Linked DNA regions of Homo sapiens: all the other regions are linked to region 1. Evidence: promoter capture Hi-C in 16 types of primary human blood cells and fetal thymus (Javierre and others, 2016). All regions are on one chromosome and are shown on one strand. The core of a region is centred on a gene start or on the middle of the fragment in contact, and the rest is flanking DNA. Distances in the headings are between cores, read along the strand shown.

Region 1 (4,106 bases), core at 412-2,911:
CCCTTGGGGCTCAGTCAAGGGAATGAAAAAACGAGGCTAGACACCTGTCCCCAACGGAAAAACCAAGAACACACCTGGAGAGCAGCTCAGACAAAGGGAGCCAGGCGGGGAAAACAGTAATTGGAGAGGAGACCGTGCTTCCAGTCTGTTGCTGGTTTACAAGGTAAATCTATTCCTGGACGAAAGGGGTACAGGAACAGCACCCGAAAACCGGCGACAGGCTGTGGCAGGCCCGACGTCTTTCAAGCCCAGCTCCTAGCGTCGACGCCCCTCCTTCCAAGACGTTTCCCAGCAGGCCCTGCGCCCAGTTTGGATCAAGTGAGCCGCCTGAGATTGCCAAGCGTCCTGTGCGCATCTCATTAACGCATCTGCTTATTCATGCATTTATTCTTTTGCTGGGGAGGGGGTGGAGGGGAACGGTGTCTCACTCATTCTGTAGCTCAGGCTGGAGTGCAGGTGGGGCGATCTCGGCTCACGGCAACCTCCGCCTCCCAGGTTCAAGCGATTCTTGTGCCTCAGCCTCCCAAGTAGTTGGGATTACAGGTGCACACGACCACGCCTGGGTAATTTTTGTACTTTTGGTGGAGACGGCGTTTCACCATGTTGGCCAGCCTGGTCTCGAACCCCTGACCCCCGGTGATCTATCCACCTTGGCCTCCCAAAGTGTAAGGATTATAGGCGTGATCCACGGCACCCGGCCTTATGCATTTATTCTTATTGAGCATCTAACATGCTCTAAGCATCGGGGGCAAAAAAGTAAATGAGATATAACAGCACTTAACACACAGCATTTATTTGCACGGGTGTTGGCTTTCTAGCCCTCCAGCGACTGCTTCTAGGTAGGGGCCCTCTTTCGTTTTTGCATCCTCCGAGTCTAGCACAGTGCCTGGCACTGACTAGGTGCTTTGTTAACAAAGGAATGACTTTAAAAGGTATTTTTGATAGGGAGCTCGGTTCTCAAACCTGTAGCCCTACGTGGGGTAGGGGAGGCGGGAGAATGGGTGAACAGGCAGACACGAGGAGAATGGGAGACGTGTTTGTATTAGGAGTGCTCACAGCAATCCACAGCTTCCCTGTGTTCCTCGTTCTCAAATAAGAGGAGGGGAGTCGAGGGCAGGATGGGGCAGCCCTCCCCGCGCAGGAGGGCTGGGTTTGGGGGCCCCAGCCGGGAGTTCTCACTGCGCTCCCGAGCCCGCCTGCCCACCCGCGCCGCTCACCAGGTCAATGGCCACGACGTCCCGCAGAGCCACTACCCGCCGGATGGACTTGGGCGGGTTCTCGGTTAGGTAGACGAGCCGGTCGCTTAGCACCACATACTTGAGGATGTGGTTCTCAGAGTTGGACACCACGATGCATGGCTCGTAGGCGCGGACCGCGTCGTAGACCTCGGGCGGCAGATGCCGCCGCAGGAACACATCCAGGCGGCTGTTCCTGCGCGCGGGGAAGCCGGACGGCAAGGGGCTGGCCATGCCCGGCGCCCGCAGCGTGGCGGAGTGCTGGGACTCGAGGCCCTCAGCTCGCCCTCTCCCCGCCCCCGCGCTGGAACCCGCGCGCCACAAAGCCGCCGGCCACGCGTCGCCTCCTCTCCAGGCGCGGGGACCCGGGCCGCAACTGCAGGAATCGACGCTAGGTCGGCTTCCCTGGAGCGCCCTCCCCAGCCCTGTCCAGCCTCTCGATCTTTGTCCTAACCTCAGACGGCGATGGGCGGGGCAAGACGCTGGTCCTTCAGGCCCGAGTTGATGGGCACCTCGGGCTCATCACCGTGAAGTCCCCTGCGGCCGAAGGGCGGTGGATTTTTAGGGTCTCTCCCGCCCACCCCTAATGCCAGTCCCCACCACTGCGTACTCTGTTGCGGATCACACCATCCAATACAAACTTTATTGGTAATGGAAGCCAGCTTCAATCTGGTTTCCTGTTAGAAACTTGAAAGAGTTTAATTTACCGATTTATTTTTAACAACCCTAGAAACCTATTAAACCCAATCACACAGATTTAGCTTTTGGTTATAACATGGCCTGGCACAGCTTTCTGATATTGTCGGAGTGTAAACATAGGTCTTCTTTCTCCAACCAGTGAGAAAGGGATTTTTTTTTTCTTTTCTCTTTTTTTTTTTGAGACGCAGCTTTGCTCTTGTTGCCCAGGCTGGAGTGCAATGGCGCCATCTCGGCTCACCGCAACCTCCCCCTCCCGGGTTCAAGCGATTCTCCTACCTCAGCCTCCTGAGTAGCTGGAATTACAGGCATGCGCCACCACGCCCAGCTAATTTTGTATATTTTAGTAAAAACGGGGTTTCTCCATGTTGGTCAAGCTGATCTCCAACTCCCGACCTCAGGTAATCCGCCCGCCTCGGCCTCCCAAAGTGCTGGGATTACAGGCGTTAAGTCACCTCGCCCAGCCTTTGAGAAAGGGATTCTTCACATGAATTGATGTGAGCACACCCAAACCAACCTAAGGCATATGGTTTTGTTTCCAATGCCCAGGACAATCTATGCAGGAAGAATGAATGGGTGATGCTGGCATCTTGAAAAGTTGAAGCTGATAGACTGAAGAATGCGGATTACATACCCTGAGGCTGCAGAGGAGTAAGTATTCCTTAGTTTTTACAGGCCAAGAATAACTTACTAATTAGGTTAGAGAAATGAGAAGGGCACAACAGAAATGCTCTAAGTCAGAAGTTCCATTTTTTATTTCGAATCCTAGAAAAGTTATTCTCTTCCCCTCCCCATTGACCCAAAAACCTGATAATGAAACCATATCGTTCATTGCTGTGGCTGCCAGCAACCCTGAATCAAATTTGATATATTCTTTATATTCTCCCTTTCTACATATTTTATTATTGTATACTGTATGTTATAAGCAACTTCAAATCCCTTGTGGAAAGAAGGTATAAATATATTACAATCCATAAACAGATATTGTAGACTACACTAGTACAAAGGGAAAGAGAAATGTTTTGGTCTGGCTAAACTTTTTTTTTTTTTTTTTTTTTGAGACAGAGTCTCCCTCTGTCACCCAGGCTGGAGTGCAGTGGCATGATATCGGCTCACTGCAGCCTCTGCCTCCTGGGTTCAAGCCATTCTCCTGCCACAGCCTCCCAAGTAGCTTGGACTACAGGTGTACACCACCATGCCTGGCTAATTTTTTTTCTGTGTGTATTTTTAGTAGAGACAGGATTTCACCATCTTGGCCATGGCTTGTCTCCTGACTTCAACTGATCTGCCTGCCTTGACCTCCCAAAGTGCTGGGAATACAGGCATGAACCACCGCCATGTAAGGGTCTGGCTAGACTTAAGTCTAAGATCATGTTAAGGAACTCAAGTGAGTAAAGAGAAGTGCCACCTGCTGGCAAAATCTTAAATGACCTAGTAGTTAAAGTTTTCTTAGGATCTCATCACACATCTGAGCCTTCCTAACTTCATAAATGGATGAAAAATGAATGAACTACACCATCCGTAGCAACCTTTATTGATAAAAGATGCCGCATGGCTATTTCCTCCAAAATAAAGACTACTCATTATCTAAACCACTCTAAATAGAGTTTGTTGCTTCAAACTAACAGAAAGGCAAAGGCGCTTCACCTCTGCTGAATAGCCACACCTCACAAAAGCAGTTGAAAGATGAATGACTACAATATCAGAGGTGGAAAGTGAGGCCCACATAAGGGAAAGGCCTTATCTTAGTCTACTATTTTGTGTCTCTCAGGCTTCCTACTTCATACCTACTTCCCAGGACTAAGAGAAACAGAATGACTGGACCAGGACCAAAAAAGACAGCATACTTGATATATCTGCCAAGAAGCCCATCTTGAATAAGCTTTTGGTGACAAGTGCACTAAGCTTAGCAAACATTAAAATGAAGCACAGGCTGGGTGTGGTGGCTCATGCCTGTAATCCCAGCACTTTGGGAGGCCGAGGCGGGTAGATCAGTTGAGGTCAGGAGTTTGAGACCAACCTGGCCAACATGGTGAAACCCCATCTCTACTAAAATTACAAAAAATTAGTTGGGTGTGGTAACACATGCCTGTAATCCTGGCTACTCGGGAGGCTGAGGCAGGAGAATTGCTTGAACCCGGGAGGTGGAGGTTGCAGTGAGCTGAGATTGCCCTA
Region 2 (4,106 bases), core at 849-3,348, 110 kb before region 1:
TTATAAAGAATGCTAATTACTTTCTTTAATATACATACCTTAAGACATATAAAAGGGATATATTAATATTGACTGAATAGTTATTTTTTCCTTTTTCTTGACCCTCTAAATCTCTAAATCTACTTTAGACTGACTAGTTATCTAAGTTTTGAGGTTAATGACAAAAGATCTACTCTTTGGTTTAATTATGTTTCTCTATTCTACGGTGTCATGGTCCACATTAAAAGAAGCCAGGGCCCCTATATATATATATATATAATAGTTTACCCCCCAAATTCTCATCTCACCTCAGCGTCAAAAGACATTCTGACTAAAGCTGAATCAGCCACCAACTGGATATCAAACACAGGACAAGATTTTGGAATCTGAGGCTCACTAATTAAAATTACCAAGAGATTAAATAGTGCTCCCCTGGAAAAAAATAAATAAAAGGCAATTAGTGAGCAAAGTGTTGAGAGGAAAAATGGTGAAGCCAAGTTTCAAACACTGGATATAATTATGTTTAAAAGAATGAAGCATTGCAGACCATCCTTGACTGAAGTTTTGGATCCTTGGACACGCAAATGAATAACTAGAGATAAAAAATTTAAATGAAAATATAACTTCTTGGTCTTCTGGCTCAGAGCGAGTGTAGTTCTAGAAGTCCACATAGCTTAGAAAGACTAGAAAATCTGGATTTAAGGGAGATTTGGGTAATTTCAATTATAGCATTATTTTCCAAAGGACTTTTTATGGATTGCTAATTCCAGACAATATTATAGTTAAAATAGATTCTGTGGTCAAAGGAGATAGGGGAAATACTTGGTTAAACCAAGTTCATCAGATGTGTTTACTACAGGACTTCTCAGAGGCTTTATATGCTAATATGCACAGTGTATCTCTGGGACAAAGCAACAGTATGCAGCTCTTCTTTTTTCTTTTTTTAGGTTTGTTTGCTTGGGTTATTTTTGGCACAGGATCTCATGATGTTGCCCGGGCTGGTCTTGAACTACTGGACTCAAGTGATCCCCTGCCTCAGCCAAGTAGCTGAGATTACAGGCTTGAGCGACCACTTTCAGTTTTTACTTTTTTTAATTGATAATAAAAATTGTATATATTTATGGTATACAACATGATGTTTTGAAATATGTATATACTGTAGAATGTGTACATATTTTATAAATCAAGCGAATTGACGTATGCATCACCTCACATGCTTATTTTTATATAGTGAGAACACAAAATCTATTGTCAGCAATTTTCAAGTATACAGGACATTGCTATTAACTATGGTCACCATATTTGTATGATTGATCTCTGGAACTTCTTCCTCCTGTCTAACTGAAGTTTTGTACCCTTTGACCAACATCTCCCAATTCCACCCCGCCCCTAAGCCTCTGACAACCACCATTCTACACTCTCTGTTTTTATGAGTTTGGCTTTTTTAGATTCCATATATAAGTGAGATCATGCATGAACTCAAAAGTCAAACTCGTATTTGTCTTTCTGTGCCTGGCTTATTTCACTTAGCCTAATATCCTCCAGTTTCATCCATGTTGTCACAAATAACAAGACTTCATTTTTATGGCTGAATAATATTCCATTGTGTATATGTACCACATTTTCTTTATCCATTCACCCATTGCTGGACAGTAAGTTTGCTTCCTTTTCTTGGTTTCTGTTAATAATGTACAGCATTTCTTTTTTTTAAATATAAAAATTTTTAAACATAAAGATGGGGTCTTGCTTTGTTGCCCAGGCTGGACTTGAACCCCTGGCCTAAAGCAATCTGCCCACCTCAGCCTCTCAAAGTGCTTGGATGACAGGCATGAGCCTCCACACCCAACTCCACCATTTTGTAAAATGCTTATTTGATCCCAAAAAACCTCAGTTATTTTACTTTCCAATGTGGGGTACCGTCCATTGATAACTCACTTAAATGTTACATGTGCATCCTGATGAGCTGGGTTAATAACGCTATCTCCTCCTATTGGGTAGTATAACCCCTGTATGGTTGAAAAGCAGCTGAAGGCAGACTGCTAAAAACTCAGTTGCCTAATTGAAGACAATGTCAGAGTAGATTTGAGGGGTAGGAGTAGTAAAATAATTCAAAGATAGTACTATACAAAAGTTCTCCATAACCATAAGCATTCCTTTCATAATGGAAAAAAGGAGGGTGAGTATAAATACCCTTGTTTAGTAGGATCTGAGGCTTTCTAATCTTCTTAGAATCATTTAAATCATCACCATGATTAGAAGCTCATGATTAACCTACACTCTAGTAAAAATACAATGCTCTTCCTTTCTCCAAGTCAAAAAGCAAGTCTAGTTCTTATATTTGGAAAGAAGAATCATGTCAGTTAGTACATTTCTCACAAAAGCAGGATATACCCTACAGGGTATTTAATAATGTTTTATTCAGGCTATTTAAAATGGCCAATCTTACTTTGAGAAGACCCTTTTAAAATCAACAGAACACTCCCTTTAGAAGTGTTTCTTGATATTGTTTGAACTGGCATTCCATTCACTGTTATATTTAATTATAGTCCTTTATTTTCAGTAACAGCTTATTTTCAAAGTATCATACATCCAAAGCAAAGAAAAAGAACTCTCAAATTATGGGTCACTTGCTATGATAACATATGAATTCAACCCTAACAATACTAGGATATGAAAAAATATGGCACATTTCAAGAAAGTTACAGCAAAGTATGTTGAACTAATGAAATCTCCACTCATGAAAACAATAAAGAGGAAAATGCTGAAATGATTAACCGCTTTTTTATTTACCCAAATGGAATTTAATTTGAAATCCACCCCTTCTGCTAATTCAATTTAAAATCCACTAGGACAATAATAGATAGAAGAAATTTTAATCAAAATGGTAGTTTCATCCTGAAAATAGAGATAACTTAGAGGATTGACATCACAGCCTTAAAAACAGTCCCAACAGTTTAATACTTTATTGTTTAGGTTGTTATTATTTCTAATGTATGAATTTTGAATGTACTACAATATCTTTAAAAATACAGACTTTGAAGGCCACATCGATAGTCTCCTAAGTCAGTCCATGTTATTGTGGTGGGCAGAAATCTAACGTGGCTTCCAAAATTCCCAGCCTGCTGGTACAAACCCTATCAAATTCCTTCCCCTTAAGTATGGGCAATAGCTCTGAATATGTTTGTCTGTCACTCTTGTGATTATGTTACATGAAATGGGAAAGATGAAGGGATTCTGAGAATATAATAAAGGCCCTAATTGGCTGACTGTTGAGTTAATCAAAAGAAGATTATCCAGAGTAGGCTTGCTCTAATCAGGTGAGCCCCGAAAAAGAGATACTCTCCTGCAAAGAAACAAGCCACCTGAGTCCCACAGCTGTAAGGAAATTTAGTCTGCCAGCAATCACCCAAATGAGCTAGGAAGAGTCCCAAGCCTCAGATGAGACTATGGCCTGGCCAACACCTCAACTGAAACCTCGTGAGACCCTGGGCAAAGGATCCAGTTAAGCTGTGCCCAGATTTCTGATCCACTGACACTGTGAGATAAGAAATACATGTTGTTTTAAGCCACTAAGTTTGTGATAATTTGTTATATGGCAATAGAAAACTAATACAATTTTGGCTGGGCACGGTGGCTCATACTTGTAATCCCAGCACTTTGGGAGGCCGACGGGGGGTGGATCACCTGAGGACAGGAGTTCAAGACCAGCCTGACTAACATGGTGAAACCCCGTCTCTACTAAAAATACAAAATTAGCAGGGTGTGGTGGTGCATGCCTGTAATCCCAGCTATTCAGGAGGCTGAGGCACAAGAATTGCTTGAACCCAGGGGGCGGAGATTACAGTCAGCCAAGATCGCACCATTGCACTCCAGCCCTGGCGACAGAGCAAAACTCTGTCTCAAAAAAAGAAAAAAGAGCCCGGGTGCGGTGGCTCATGCCTATAATCCTAGCACTTTGGGAGGCCGAGGCGGGTGGATTGCCTGAGGTCAGGAGTTCGAGACCAGTCTGGCCAACATGGTGAAACCGTCTTAACTAAAAACATAAAAAAAATCAGCCGAGCGTGGTGGCACACACCTGTATCCCCAGCTACTTGAGAGGCTGAGGCAGGGGAATTGCTTGAACCATG
Region 3 (4,106 bases), core at 1,199-3,698, 91 kb before region 1:
CCAAGAAATATAGCATAAAGTTGAAAAACCACTGCTTTAGCTTAAGGCTATGATAACAATTTAAATAAAAAAATCTTAAAGGATGTTGACTTTTATTAGTCATATATGCTAATTTTGTGAAAATAAATCTGAGGATAGATTTTGGCTGTGGATTAGACAGAAGAACATAAGGCTACTGGGTTTGATAGCATGGTTGGGGATAGGGCCAAGGGGGACTCCACTGAAGTGTAGAGAGACCACAAATAGAGAGACTACCCATTTACTTTTTTTTCTTTTTTTTATTATACTTTAATTTCTGGGGTACATGTGCAGAATGTGCAGTTTTGTTATACACATGCCATGGTGGTTTGCTGCACCCATCAACCCGTCAGCCACATTAGGTATTTCTTTTAATGCTATCCCTCCCCTATTCCCCCGTCCGCCGACAGGCCCCAATGTGTGATGTTCCCCTCCCTGTGTCCATGTGTTCTCATTGTTCAACTCCCACTTATGAATGAGAACATGCAGAACATGTTTGGTTTTCTGTTCTTGTGTTAGTTTGCTGAGAATGATGGTTTCCAGCTTCATCCATGTCCCTGCAAAGGACATGAACTCATCTTTTTATGGCTGCATAGTATTCCATGGTGTATATGTGCCACATTTTCTTAATCCAGTCTATCACTGATGGACATTTGGGTTGGTTCCAAGTCTTTGCTATTGTGAATAGTGCTGCAATAAACATACATGTGCATGTGTCTTTATAGCAACGTGATTTATAATCCTTTGGGTATATACCCACTAATGGGATTGCTGAGTTAAATGGTATTTCTAGTTCTAGGTCCTTGTGGAATCGCCACACTGCCTTCCACAATGGTTGAACTAATTTACACTCCCACCAACAGTGTAAAAGCATTCCTATTTCTCCACATCCTCTCCAGCATCTGTTGTTTCCTGACTTTTTAATGATCACCATTCTAACTGGCATGAGATGGTATCTCATTGTGGTTTTGATTTGCATTTCTCTAATGACCAGTGATGATGAGCTTTTTTTCATGTTTGTTGGCTGCATAAATGTCTTCTTTTGAGAAGTGTCTGTTCATATCCTTTGCCCACTTTTTGATGGGGTTGTTTTTTGCTTGTAAATTTGTTTACGTCCTTTGTAGATTCTGGATATTAGCCCTTTGTCAGATGGATAGATTGCAAAAATTTTCTCTCGTTCTGTAGGTTGTCTGTTCACTCTGATGATAGTTTCTTTTGCTGTGCAGAAGCTCTTTAGTTTAATTAGATCCCATTTGTCAATTTTGGCTTTTGTTGCCATTGCTTTTGATGTTTTAGATATGAAGTCTTTGCCCATGCCTGTGTCCTGAATGGTATTGCCTAGGTTTTCTTCTAGGACTTTTATGGTTTTAGGTCTTATGTTTAAGTCTTTAATCCACCTTGAGTTAATTTTTGTATAAGGTGTAAGGAAGGGGTCCAGTTTCAGTTTTCTGCATATGGCTAGCCAGTTTTCCCAGCACCATTTATTAAATAGGGAATCCTTTCCCCATTGCTTGTTTGTGTCAGGTTTGTCAAAGATCAGATGGTTGTAGATGTGTGGTGTTATTTCTGAGGGCTCTGTTCTGTTCCATTGGTCTATATGTCTGTTTTGGTACCAGTACCATGCTCTTTTGGTTACTGTAGCCTTGTAGTATAGTTTGAAGTCAGGTAGTGTGATGCCTCCAGCTTTGTTCTTTATGCTTAGGATTGTCTTGGCTATGCGGGCTCTTTTTTGGTTCCATATGAACTTTAAAGCAGTTCTTTCCAATTCTGTGGAGAAAGTCAATAGGTAGCTTGATGGGGATAGCATTGAATCTATAAATTACTTTGGGCAGTTATGGCCATTTTCACGATATTGATTCTTCCTATCCATGAGCATGAAATGTTTTTCCATTTGTTTGTGTCCTCCCTTATTTCCTTGAGCAGTGGTTTGTAGTTCTCCTTGAAGAGGTCCTTCACATTCCTTGTAAGTTGTATTCCTAGGTATTTTATTCTCTTAGTAGCAATTGTGAATGGGAGTTCACTCATGATTTGGCTCTCTGTTTGTCTGTTATTGGTGTATAGGAATGCTTGTGATTTTTGTGCATTGATTTCGTATCCTGAGACTTTGCTGAAGTTGCTTTGATAAGCTTAAGGAGATTTGGGCTGAGACGGTGAGGTTTTCTAAATATACAATCATGTCATCTGTGAACAGAGACAATTTGACTTCCCCTTTTCCTATCTGAATTATTTCCTTCTCCATTCACTTTGGCCTTTCATTTTTGATAACTGAATTAGAAGATTTGTTTTAGCCCAGGTAAGAATATTATATTAAATAATGGCTGCAGTGTTTTCAAGTATAAAACAGATCATGAAAGCTTCATTTTTAGACATTGGATTAGGTTAATATTTCACAAGAGAACAGATTTGCAATTCAGTATGAATAACTTACAGCACCTGGAATATGCATGCATTGTGTTTTGGCCTGAGGGAGAATACAAAGATAAGTAAGACATATACTTGTCCTAAAGAAGCTTTTAGCATATTAAGATAAATAAGAAAAATGTGCCAATCACTATAGTAAAAGGGAGGATATCTGTGCTAATTCTCGATGGTAGAAACTGTATCATAATCATGCTATATTTCTAATACCTATCACCAAGCCTCACACAGATTAGGCATGAAAACTGTCTGTTAATTGTTAAAGAGGAAGTGCTATGAAAGATGTCATAGAACTACATTGTTCAACTCGGTAGCTACTGCCCACAAGTGTCTATTTAAATTAATGTAAATTTAATAAAATTAACGTTTTACTTTTTTAGTCACTAGTCACATTCAAGTGCTTAATAGCCACATGTGGCTAGTGTCTGCTGTATTGAACAATGCAGATTATAAAACTTCAAAGAAAGTTCTATGGCATGGAATTGACAGAGAAGATCAAAAGGAGGAAGGTACTAAAGTTCCCCATTAGGCATGACAGGAAAGGCAGAAAATGGCATTTGAGCTGAGCCTTGATGAATGGGTATGATTTTTAACAAGAGAAATTAGAAGAAGAGTATTCTAGAGAAAGCAAGCAGCAGGGAGAAAGGAGAGCTAAGGAGAACAAGTATCCAAGTTATCCTACATGGCTCGATCTTGTAGAGGACAGAGGTGAGAGAGAAGATGAAGTGGCGGGTCAGGTCTGTGAATCCTAACCTTACTCTCTTTCTCTCCATTCTTTTTTTGTTCCACAGCCTAGGCCACAGGTATCAGGCCTGTTTTTAAACTGAAGATGCTTAAATGACCTCCAGACTAACACTGGTGCTGATCCCATTAGGAATACACATCAACATCCTTCTTAATCTAACCCTTAAGTGGTACTTCAGTTCTCCTACCTAGACATGCACTTTAAATCCAGTCCCTGATTGTGTCCAGTGTATCTGGGTGGACTTCCCCTTTGAGCACTGTCCTAAGTCCTTTCCCAGTCCTCTCCTAACTGCTGGCTTTACTCTTGACAATCTTTATGTCCTCACATTCCATAAAACCCTGTTCCCACACCCTAAACAAGCAGATCTTCCTGGTGCCAAATGTTTGTGCAGACATCCAGTTGTAATTCACCCACATGCTAAAATATCCTGATATTTCATTTTGCTCACTCTTATGTAGAGATCACTCTCACCTTTGGGCACTGTGCCTTTTCCATGAGCATCTACATCTGGATTCATTTTCCCAGTGCCCACCTTATCCAGATGGTAGCCTGATATGTTCTGGTTCTGTGTTCCCACCCAAATCTCATCTTGAATTGTAATCCCCACTGTCGAGGGAGGGTCCTGGTGGGAGGTGATTGGATCATGCATGCTGTTTTCACGATGGTGAGGGAGTCCTCATGAGATCTGATGGTTTAAAAGTGGCAGTTTCCCCTGCACATTCTCTCTCTCTCTCCTGTTGCCATGTAAGACATGCCTTGCTTCCCCTTCGCCTTCTGTCATGATTGTAAGTTTCCTGAGGCCTCCCAGCCATGTGGAACTGTAAGTCTGTGGCAGGCCAGGTCTTCATAACAGCTGAACAGACAGGCCTCCATAACAACTGTTCCGGTACTGACTGAGTGGTTATGTTAAATATTAAAAGCTGAT

The links. The method cuts DNA at HindIII sites, captures the fragments that hold promoters and counts their contacts. A CHiCAGO score of 5 or more calls a contact.
Region 2: a fragment that was not itself captured here is called in contact with the fragment with the promoter of C12orf56 in region 1 in 5 of 17 cell types (activated CD4 T cells, non-activated CD4 T cells, naive CD4 T cells and 2 more); the score reaches 11.6 in activated CD4 T cells.
Region 3: a contact is called between a fragment that was not itself captured here and the fragment with the promoter of C12orf56 in region 1, in 3 of 17 cell types (activated CD4 T cells, non-activated CD4 T cells and naive CD4 T cells). The highest score is 7.1, in activated CD4 T cells.

Annotation. Positions count from the first base shown.
Region 1 is chr12:64,389,097-64,393,202 of GRCh38, forward strand. C12orf56 (chromosome 12 open reading frame 56) reads right to left here and starts at 1,662. Exons shown (of 13, transcript NM_001170633.2): 1 at 1,218-1,662. The coding sequence starts at 1,469. The HindIII fragment of the contact is 6,871 bases long and covers 1-3,811 here.
Region 2 is chr12:64,277,393-64,281,498 of GRCh38, forward strand. It overlaps C12orf56 (chromosome 12 open reading frame 56), which reads right to left. Exons shown (of 13, transcript NM_001170633.2): 9 at 288-411. Among named protein-coding and RNA genes, the nearest start is that of KICS2, 57 kb to the left of the region's middle. The HindIII fragment of the contact is 8,258 bases long and covers 1-4,106 here.
Region 3 is chr12:64,297,125-64,301,230 of GRCh38, forward strand. All of the region lies in intron 6 of C12orf56 (chromosome 12 open reading frame 56), which reads right to left. Among named protein-coding and RNA genes, the nearest start is that of KICS2, 77 kb to the left of the region's middle. The HindIII fragment of the contact is 156 bases long and covers 2,371-2,526 here.